Regions from separate parts of the Homo sapiens genome. Here all the other regions are linked to region 1. Evidence: promoter capture Hi-C in human tissues and cell types (Jung and others, 2019). All regions are on one chromosome and are shown on one strand. Each heading gives the region's core, a stretch centred on a gene start or on the middle of the fragment in contact. The rest is flanking DNA. Distances are from core to core; before and after follow the strand shown. Region 1 holds the start of SP9 (Sp9 transcription factor). Region 2 overlaps SP3 (Sp3 transcription factor). Region 3 has its middle 12 kb from the start of LINC01960.

Region 1 (3,038 bases), core at 211-2,710:
AGAAGAGGCCGCCGTAGTCGCTGCTGAAGGCGGACGACGTGGGCGACGTGGAGGCCAGGCAGAAGGCGCTGTTGGCGGCGCCCGAGCCGCCCGCCAGGCCGCCCGAGCCACGGCCCCCGGTGGCCACCGCGAAGCCCGAGAGGCTGGAGCCGAGGTTGCAGCTGGACGAGGAGCGCTTCCAGGGGTGAAAGCCGCCTTTGGCGAAGGCGCTCGACTCTGGCAGCGTCGTCAGCGGGCTCGTGTTGCCGATCTTGTTGCAGGTCGCCGCCAGCATGGCCAACGGGGTCGTTCCGAAGCGCGGCTCTTCCTAGAGTGGGTGGGATGGGGGAGGGAGCAAGAAGGAGGAGGGCAAGAGGAAGTGGGGGAAGAAACAAAGTGCACCCGTGAGCAGCCTCGTCCCCTGCGGCTGCTCCCGGGGGGTCCTGGCTCCCCGCCTCGCGCCTCCTCCCCACGCGCCCGCGGAGGAGTCGCCGCACCGGGCGCGGAGCAGGGGCGATCACCCGGGCGAAGGTCCAGGCGCCGGAAAGTTGCACTTCGCTGAGGCTATAAATCAAAGATGCCTCCGTGTTCCCCGCTGCAACCCTGCCTACAACCGGACTTGGGTTGTCGCCGTAAACCGGCTCATCTCCCAGAAGACCCCAAGTCGCCCTTCGGGGTGAAGCGCGAAGGTAAACACAGAGACCAGAGACAACAAACACCGGGTGAGGGCGGAGGCGGCCGAAACAGCTGCCAGGGACGGGCGAAACTTGCAGCTCTCCCAGGGTGGCTACGACTTGACTTTTCTTTTTTAATAGAAAACGTTTGGTTTTAAAGTTTACATACACACAAAAACAGCGATTATGAAAACAATAATCCGAGGATAAGCGGCCAGAGACAGATTTCAAAGTCATGGGCGAATTGGGGAGCCGCGGAAATGTAAATGTTTATTAGCGTGACTAGATGGACTGCAAAACGATTAAGACTGTTTTCTGGAAACACCATTGTCGCATAATTGCAACAAAATCCCCAAAGCAATGCGGGGGATGGGGTATAAATCACGAGGGGAAGAAAAGAAACCTCTAGCTTTTTTTTGAAACCAAATGAAAAAGGACTTGATTAAGAAGGCCTTTTCTTGCAAAGGCATCTTTCTGGGTTCCAAAAACTTGGGGAAAAATCAGTCCCAGAAATGTGGAAAGTGCTAATAGAAGCTGAAGCTGCAGTCTAGCAGCAACAGTTTCTCCGGAGCCGCAGACCCCAGAAGCCATAACGAAAAATTACTCCGGTTAAAACAAGCAAATGCGTTGCCGCGCTTGCGACTTACCCCGAGTATAGACGTGGCCATAGCAGGTCTCTGGCTGCGCAGCGAGGCTGGGAGCGGGGCTGAGCCTGGCGGCTGCTCGGAAAAACTGCTTGGGTCCCGCGCGGCTCCCGCGTCCCCGCGCTCGTGCCGAGCGGACTCCAGGCTCCCGCCGGCTAAACTCAGCCTAAGTGCGAGGAGCACCCGCTTTGAAGTGCCGCTGGCTGCGCCTCTCGCCCAATGAGGGCGCAGGCAGAGCAGACCGGAGCTGCCCCGCAGCCAATCAGACGCTCCGAGGGGCCCGAGCCCGGGCTCCCGGCGCGTGCCAGTCAAGTCAGCTAGCTAGGGCCGCGGGGGTGGGGGGGAGTAGTGGGGGATACTTGCGGGGGGGGGGCGAGGGCGGGCTGGGGACTGAAGAAATTACAGTGCAATTAAAAATTTACACTCACGCACCAAGCCAGGTTTAAGTACCAATGAAACCGAGCCACAAGCACCCCCCCACACACAAACCACCCCGAGATGTTGCAAGTTAGGGCTGACAGTCCTACTCGACTCCCCACTTGTAGGAAAGGAGGCAGGAGGGGAGGAGACACCCAGACACAGCCCGCACCAGCAGGGCCCAAGTGGAGACGGAAATGTGAGCCCTCACTTTGTGTGTCCAGGCTTTTGCCTACAGAACACAACTTCAGCTTGTATCTATCATTCTTGCTTGTGATTTTTATCATTTTCGTGTGTCTTCTACCCAATTCCTTATTCCACTAGATTCAATTTCACTCTCACAGTTATACTGGGGAGGGGGCGCGAAGGGACAGCTCCTCCGAGAGGAGCGAAATAGGCCTCTCTGTACAGATCTACATCCACAGATTTGTTGGGAGGGCCTGGAGCCTGCTGCATCCCGCCATTTCCCCCCAGCGGTGTAAGTGACTTCCTAATTGTCGCTCTGGCCTCTGACCCGGGGGGTAATACAAGTGCCACTCACGCTAGAGGCTTCTGGTGGTAATTGAGGGCACCCTTTGTACGGTTTCGCCAGCGCTTAGATACCAGGTTAACCCAGTTGTCAAATATGACTAAACAGTGGGATGTGCTGATTATCTGCCGGGTTTTGCTGTGGGCTGGCATGGGGGTGGGAGGCATCAGCCCATACAACACGCTGCACGAAGCCGCTTATTTTCTCACTGTAACAACTTTGGAAACAGAGACCGGCGCGAGCGGCGTCCGCCCCCACCTCCACCTCCGCTGAAGCTGCAGCTTGCTCGGCTGTTTGTTTAACCCGGTGAAGATTTGCATGTCGCGTTTCATCCTGGAGTGGAGTTTTCTTGTCCCAGCTCCAACCCACTCCCATTCCAGACCACCAGGGCCTAGAGGCTCGTCCGTAGGGCAAGTGCGCTGTTTTAAGAGGTAGGCTCCCCATTAGTGCCCTGCTTTCACGGACGCGCCCGAGAAATCTCTCCAGGACTTTCACCCGGGAGGGCGGAGGACCAGGCCACACGTGGGCGCTTCCACATTTTGCAGGCTGGAAGCATCCTGAAGTCCTCCCTGGACCTTGTCAGTGTGAAAAGAGGCGTCCTCAAGCAGACCAGGGTGCGTCTTCGAGTCCCCCAGCAACCGCTGACCTGCTTGTTTTTCTCTTTCTGGGCCCCGCTTTCTCTTTCTTCTCCAGGGTAGCCAGAAGCTGTTTTTGAACCAGAAATACCAGCGCCCTCGGGCAGACCTGGGCACTGGTTTTAATATAGCACACTCCCCACTAAACCCACACCCTGCT
Region 2 (3,038 bases), core at 378-2,877, 410 kb after region 1:
TATAATACATGAGATATTGTAGGATTATCCGGTGGTTCTGTTAGATGATTTTTATGGCAGGTGAAGCTGATTAAAGGGAAAATGTAAATAAAATAAACTTTTAGAATCAAATGAAGTAATTTGATTCTAAATCAAATTTGATTTAGAATCAAATTACTTCAGTGCTTAAAAAAGTTGAAGGCAGAGAATATGAAAGACTTTGATAAGAACAACAAAATCTTAATGGCACACTATTGATAAAAGATAATGTCTCATTTTATCAACCATACTGTAATTCATATTTATCTAATGTTAGCTATTTAAATTAAGTATGCGTGTTCCAGACTTGATAAGTTGGTTAAGAATTTATCTTAAATGTTCTGTTAGCTCTATTGATAAATAATTAGCAGTTAATTTTAGGAAGAGGTATTTAGGATTTTCTTGTAATATTTTTAATAGAAATCTAGGCATGCCCTGAGTTATTGATACTTAACTAATACTGAAAATTAGCCTTATCTTTGTAACCATATTGTGTGTGTGGGTGTGTGTGTATATTTCATTATTTAAATTTTCTGTTTTTTTCTCTTCAATTCTTGCCCAGGTATGCAGAATTTTTTTTTCTTTTGTACATACCCCTTTCGCAAGCTTGTTTTATTGGTAGGCCTTGAAAACAGCCATAATCACAGGACAGAGATACTGTCAGTGCAATAACTCATCAAATGAAAAGGAAACTTAAACATTTTGAGGTGGAGAATAGACATAAAAAAACAGTGCTGTTTATAAAGTTCTTAAATGTGTCATACACATTTCCTTGAATTTCTGTTTTCATTGCTTAAATTTTTTGCATACTTTTCCTCAAATATTAATCAAATTTAAGTCAGCACATTCATTTCTTTATACTGCTAGCATGCACTATTGCTACAGAATATAAAGGCTGATTTACAAATACTTCAGGTACCCTTATGTGTCAAATCTACCCTTGTGGGCTAACCTAGGAACTGTACTGCCAATTTTATAATGCTTGCTTTTATAGCAAAACCCTTGGAAAGAGTTAACCTGTACTTGTTTACAATTCATCTCCTTCCACTCTCTGGAGTCTATACTAGGCAGGGTTTTGTGCTCACAGTTCTTGTCAAGATCACCAGTGATTACCACAATGTTATATCCAAGGATCATTTCTTAGTCTTTATTTTACTTGACTTTTTAAGTATTTGACACAGTTAAGTTCTTCCCGAAATGATTTCTTCAGTTTGGTTTCTGGACACCAGTTTCCTCATATCTCACTGGCACTCTCAGTCCCCTATGCTGGTTCTTTTTAGTCTCTGCTTGTTAATTTTGGAGTGCTGCAGGGTTTCCTCCTGTCTACATTATATTCCAGATGACTCTCAATGCCTAATGTATATGCTGATATTGGCAGGCCAGATTTCTACCTGAACTCCAAACCCATTGACTGTCTGATGAACACCTTCATCTGGATATTCAATAGGCATTCAGAACTTTCATATTTCAAAATAGGCCCCTGACTGGCACCCCTCCCCTGCAATCTTTTCTACCTTCAGTTTACCATATCTCAGTTAATGGCAACTCCATCTTTCTAGTTGCTCAGGATTTAAAAAAAAAAAAACCTTGGGAGTGTTTTTAACTTCTTTCTGTTCTTGCTCCTCACATGATAACCTGTTATCAATCTGTTAGCAGATGTCTTTGACTCTACTTTAAACATATTTTCTGACTGAACAATTCTACCCCTCCTCCTCAATACCTTAGCTTCAGGCCACTATCATCTCTTTTTAAGACTGTGTCAGGCCATTCCTGTATTACTATATAGAAATATCTGGGACTGGGTAATTTGTAAGAGGTTTAATTGACTCAGTTCTGCAGGCTGTACCGGAAGCATAGTGCTGGCATCTGGGTCTGGGAAGGCCTCAAGAAGCTTTTACTCATGGCAGAAGGCAAATGGGGAATGGGCACGTCACATGGTAGAAGTAGAGGGAGGTGAGAGACAGAGAAAGAGTAGGAGGGAAGGTGCCACACACTTAAACCAGATCTCTTAACTATTGCAAGGACAGTGCCAAGACAGTGGTGCTAAACCATTTATGAGAAATCCGCCCCCATGATCCAATCACCTCCTACCAGGCTCCACCTCCACCTTTGGGGATTGCATTTCAACATAAGATTTGGATGGGGACAAATATCTAAACTGTGTCAGGGTCTTTCTTTGTTGCCCAGGCTGGAGGGCAGTGATGTGATCATGGCTCACTGCAACCTGAACCTCCTGGGCTCAAGTGATTCTCCCACTTCAGTCTCCTGAGTAGCTGGGACCACAAGGCATGTGCCACCATGCCTGCCTGGCCTGTTTGTTTGTTTGTTTGTTTGTTTGTTTGTTTTTGGATAGTGACGGGACCGCTCTCTCTTGGCTCAGGCTGGTCTTGAACTCCTAGGTTCAATCGTTTCTCCCGCTTCGGTCTCCCAAAGTGCTGATATTACAGGCATGAGCCACCCTGCCCAGTCAGCATGAACTTTTAACTTGCTAACTGCCTTATCCTTAGAACTTAGAACAGTGACTGGCACATCGTAGCCATACATATAGTTGTTGAGTGAATAAAATCATATTCTAAATTTCATATTATGAATTTAATTTGTGGGACACACTCATTTTATTATTTGTATAAAAATGGGGGAAGGTTTAGTCAACTATGTGGGAACTAGAGGTAAAGCAAAAAAATTGTCTTTAACAGTTCCTAAGTAATCACCTATAAATTACGTTAAAATATTTAATTTATAATAATCTTTATATTGAAGTACAATATGCATTCAGAAAATGTAGAGATCAAATGTATATAACTTGATGAAATTTTACAAAATGAACACATAGGAAAACTACCACCCAGATCAAGAAATAGGATATTACCAGCAACCCTGAAATCTCCCTGTACTCAGTCATATATGTCCCTCAAAAGTAGGCAGTCACCACTCTTCTATCCCCATGGAGCACCTACTCCCTTCACATTTAAATAATTATTTTTAAACTGGGCTCAGTGGCTCATGCCTGTAATCCCAGC
Region 3 (3,038 bases), core at 265-2,764, 300 kb after region 1:
TGCAAAATTCTTTTTGTCATGCCACAGTGGTCCTCTTTCTGCTCCTCAAGTGTGCTAAGGTTGATGCTACCTTGGGGCATTTTGCAGAGGCTCTTTTATTTACCTAGAATATTGTTGCCCTGGCTTCTCCTGGACTGGCCCCTTCTTTTTATCCAGCTCCAATGTCATTTTCTCTGAAAAGTCCTCCCGATCCCACAATTCCCCCGGCCCAAATTATTTTCCAAGAGCATCTGTCACCATGGGAAATCATCTTTTTTATTTGTTTACTTTGTTGTCTGCATTGCCTGCCTTTCTCCCAACAGAATTAAAACTCCCTTTGGGTAGTAGCTACATGTCATTTCTAGAGTCTACAGCAGTATCTGCCACAAAGTAAGCACTCAGTACACTCCTATGGAATGGACACTTGTATCATGAAAGGAGCTGAGTTCTTGTTAGAAGGTGCTGCATGGCATCTGTGACTCGTCTTTCCCTTGGTGCCAACTCTATGTCACCAAATCTTCAGTGGGTTCTACTTCTGAAGAATGTCTTATACCTGTCCCTCTGTCCCCTCCTATTTCCCACATTCCCAGAGCCACTGCTCTGATACCTGGGTAGTGACAGCCCTATACCTTTCTCCCTGCTGCCCACGCTTCCTAAAAGGCGAGTGGCCCTGCCCCTGCTCTACTTCACCCCTTGCTTCCATTCACGCCCCACTTCTGGGACAGCCAATCCCTCTTGGTATTCTCCTGCCATTCTTGGACTAAATCAAAGCATCTTCCCCGCAGTACCCCGAGGTCCTGCCTTCCAGCCGGCAGACCTTGCTCTTCTCAGTAGCAGAGCCCAGCATGGAAGGGGAGGGAGTTCCTTAGGAATCTCTTAAGAAGACCTGAGGTCCACTGTGGATTCATGAGGCTCCTGAAGGCAGCAGGGGGTGTGAAGAGGGGCTGGGCAATAGCCAGAGGGAGCTTTCTGAAGATGGCTCAGGAGGAAGTGGAAAAGGGCCCCGCACAGGCAGATCTGGGGTCCCAGACAGCTCATGGGGAGCGTTGGGTAAAGGATTCTGGGGCTGCCCTAACACAAAGCGGTCAAGGCCTTGGAAGAGCTGGAGTGGAGATGCTCGCAGGCAGTGTGGTAACCCTACCCCTTCTTGCCTCTTATGCAGCCATATGCCTGTCCAAGGGTGAGCTGGTGGGCTGTGTAGGAAATTAAGAGGGGATCAAGCAAACCCAGGGAGACAGGACATCTGGCATTGCTGAGGGAACTGCCCACAGCCAATGTGGCCCTTCTCTTCCCATCAAAAGCTGTTGCCAGGTGTAGGTGGGCAGGGGCTGGCAATGGCTTGTACCTTGTATATTAGAAATTTATTGTGGTCTGTTCAGGTAACAATGTTTAGAGACCTTTCTTATGAAAGGTGCTATGTTCCCTGTGAGTCATTAAGACTATTTATTTATTTTTAATACCAAATGTCTAAATTCATCTACCCTCTAGGGATCATTTCATCTTGTACTGTGTGCTATCTCAGCAGAAAAAATGCTTTCCCCAAATGTGTCAGTTCTATTTTTAAAAAGGTTCAGTGACCTATTTCTGTAATTCTCACAGACACTGGAAGTACAGCAGAGACTATTTAGGCTCAGCTTTGTCACCAAAAAGTTACCCTGGCTTCCAGGTGTTGCCTAGAGAGATGCCATCTTGCTTTGCAATGGAGAAGCATAAATAAGAGGAGTACACCTGTCCCCCCTCATGGAGGGAATTCACCCCAAGACTCTCAGTGTTTGTCTGAAACTACAGATAGTACTGAACCCTACATAGGCTACGTTTTTTCCTGTATATACATACTTATGATAAAGCTTAATTAATAAATTAGACACAGTAAGAGATTAGCAACAATAACTAATAACAAGATAGAACAATTAAGTGAAGTAAGAGTTACTGGAACACAGGCATAGTGATACTGCCAAGAGGGCTACGGAGCAACCACGGGCAGGGAGCGTCTATGGCACCAAGATGCTGGACAAAGGGGTGAGTCACGTCCTGGCAGGACAGAGTGGGGCAGTATGGGATTTAATCATGCCACCCAGAACAGTATACAACTGAAAACTTAGGAATTGTTTATTTCTGGTGTTTCCATTTAATATTTTCAGACCAAGGCTGATCATGGGTAACTGAAACTATGGAAAGTGGAACTTTGGATGGGGGGACTACTACATTGTCAGGATAAGATCATGAGAGCAAAAAACGTACACACATAGACACACATACGACATGTTTCTCCAGTTTCAAACAATGTCATGATGACTACACTCCGCCTTTAGCCAAACTCGACATTGGGAAATAGCTTAAGAATCAACAGTTTCTGAGACAAAGAACTTAAAAAGACAATTTACAAAAGAGAAACTACAGCTCATCAACTAAGATGTGGCAAGCGGTTAGATCCACTAGTAATCCAGGAAATGAAAATTAGAGCAACGCCACTTTCCAAAACTAGCCCCTGGTGGGAGAAGTCAGAACAACGATGACCCTTGGGTGGAGTGGAGGAGGGGGAACGGGGCCACAATAGTGGCCTCTAGGGGTAAGGTTCTGTTTCTTAATCTGGGTGCTGATTACTCAGGGGTGTTCACTTTGTAAAAATTCACTCGTGATTTGTGTACTTTTCTGAACGCATGATAAACTTCACTACAAAGTTTACATTAAAAAATCAAGCTCACTTTTTACCTATTAAATTAGCAAAAACAATTTTTTTTTAGTAATACTAGCCAGTGTGGTTTAAGCCATCACAAAGCTAACATTTTTACATATTGCTAATCACAGTATACATTAATATAGTGCCCTTTGGGGAGGAATTTGGCAGTATGAATGTAAAACTCTTGAGAAGCGTTCATACTTGTTAATTCGATAACTTCACTTCTGAGACTCTGTCTTAAAGAAATAACCCTAAATGCCAAAAAATGGTTTATGTGCACATACGCATTGCAATATCATTTATAGTAACAAAAATTGACAACATCAAAACACTGAAAGTAATCTAAATGTCCAACTCTAGGGCAATGGTTAAATAAACT

What was found. Contacts are between HindIII fragments. The study calls those that stand out against the background at their distance.
Region 2: a contact is called between a fragment that was not itself captured here and the fragment with the promoter of SP9 in region 1, in 1 of the 25 tissues and cell types used here (heart right ventricle).
Region 3: a fragment that was not itself captured here is called in contact with the fragment with the promoter of SP9 in region 1 in 1 of the 25 tissues and cell types used here (lymphoblastoid cells).

What each region holds. Positions count from the first base shown.
Region 1 is chr2:174,333,376-174,336,413 of GRCh38, reverse strand. SP9 (Sp9 transcription factor) reads right to left here and starts at 1,460. Exons shown (of 2, transcript NM_001145250.2): 1 at 1,301-1,460; 2 at 1-307. The coding sequence starts at 1,321. It overlaps LOC102724194 (a long non-coding RNA gene), which reads left to right and starts at 1,438. Exons shown (of 3, transcript XR_427194.5): 1 at 1,438-2,674; 2 at 2,789-2,857. The HindIII fragment of the contact is 14,947 bases long and covers 1-3,038 here.
Region 2 is chr2:173,920,856-173,923,893 of GRCh38, reverse strand. The region is part of intron 4 of SP3 (Sp3 transcription factor); the gene reads left to right. Among named protein-coding and RNA genes, the nearest start is that of SP3, 43 kb to the left of the region's middle. The HindIII fragment of the contact is 4,507 bases long and covers 1-3,038 here.
Region 3 is chr2:174,035,556-174,038,593 of GRCh38, reverse strand. No RefSeq gene overlaps it. Among named protein-coding and RNA genes, the nearest start is that of LINC01960, 12 kb to the right of the region's middle. RefSeq lists enhancers at 429-929, 930-1,430. The HindIII fragment of the contact is 5,340 bases long and covers 1-3,038 here.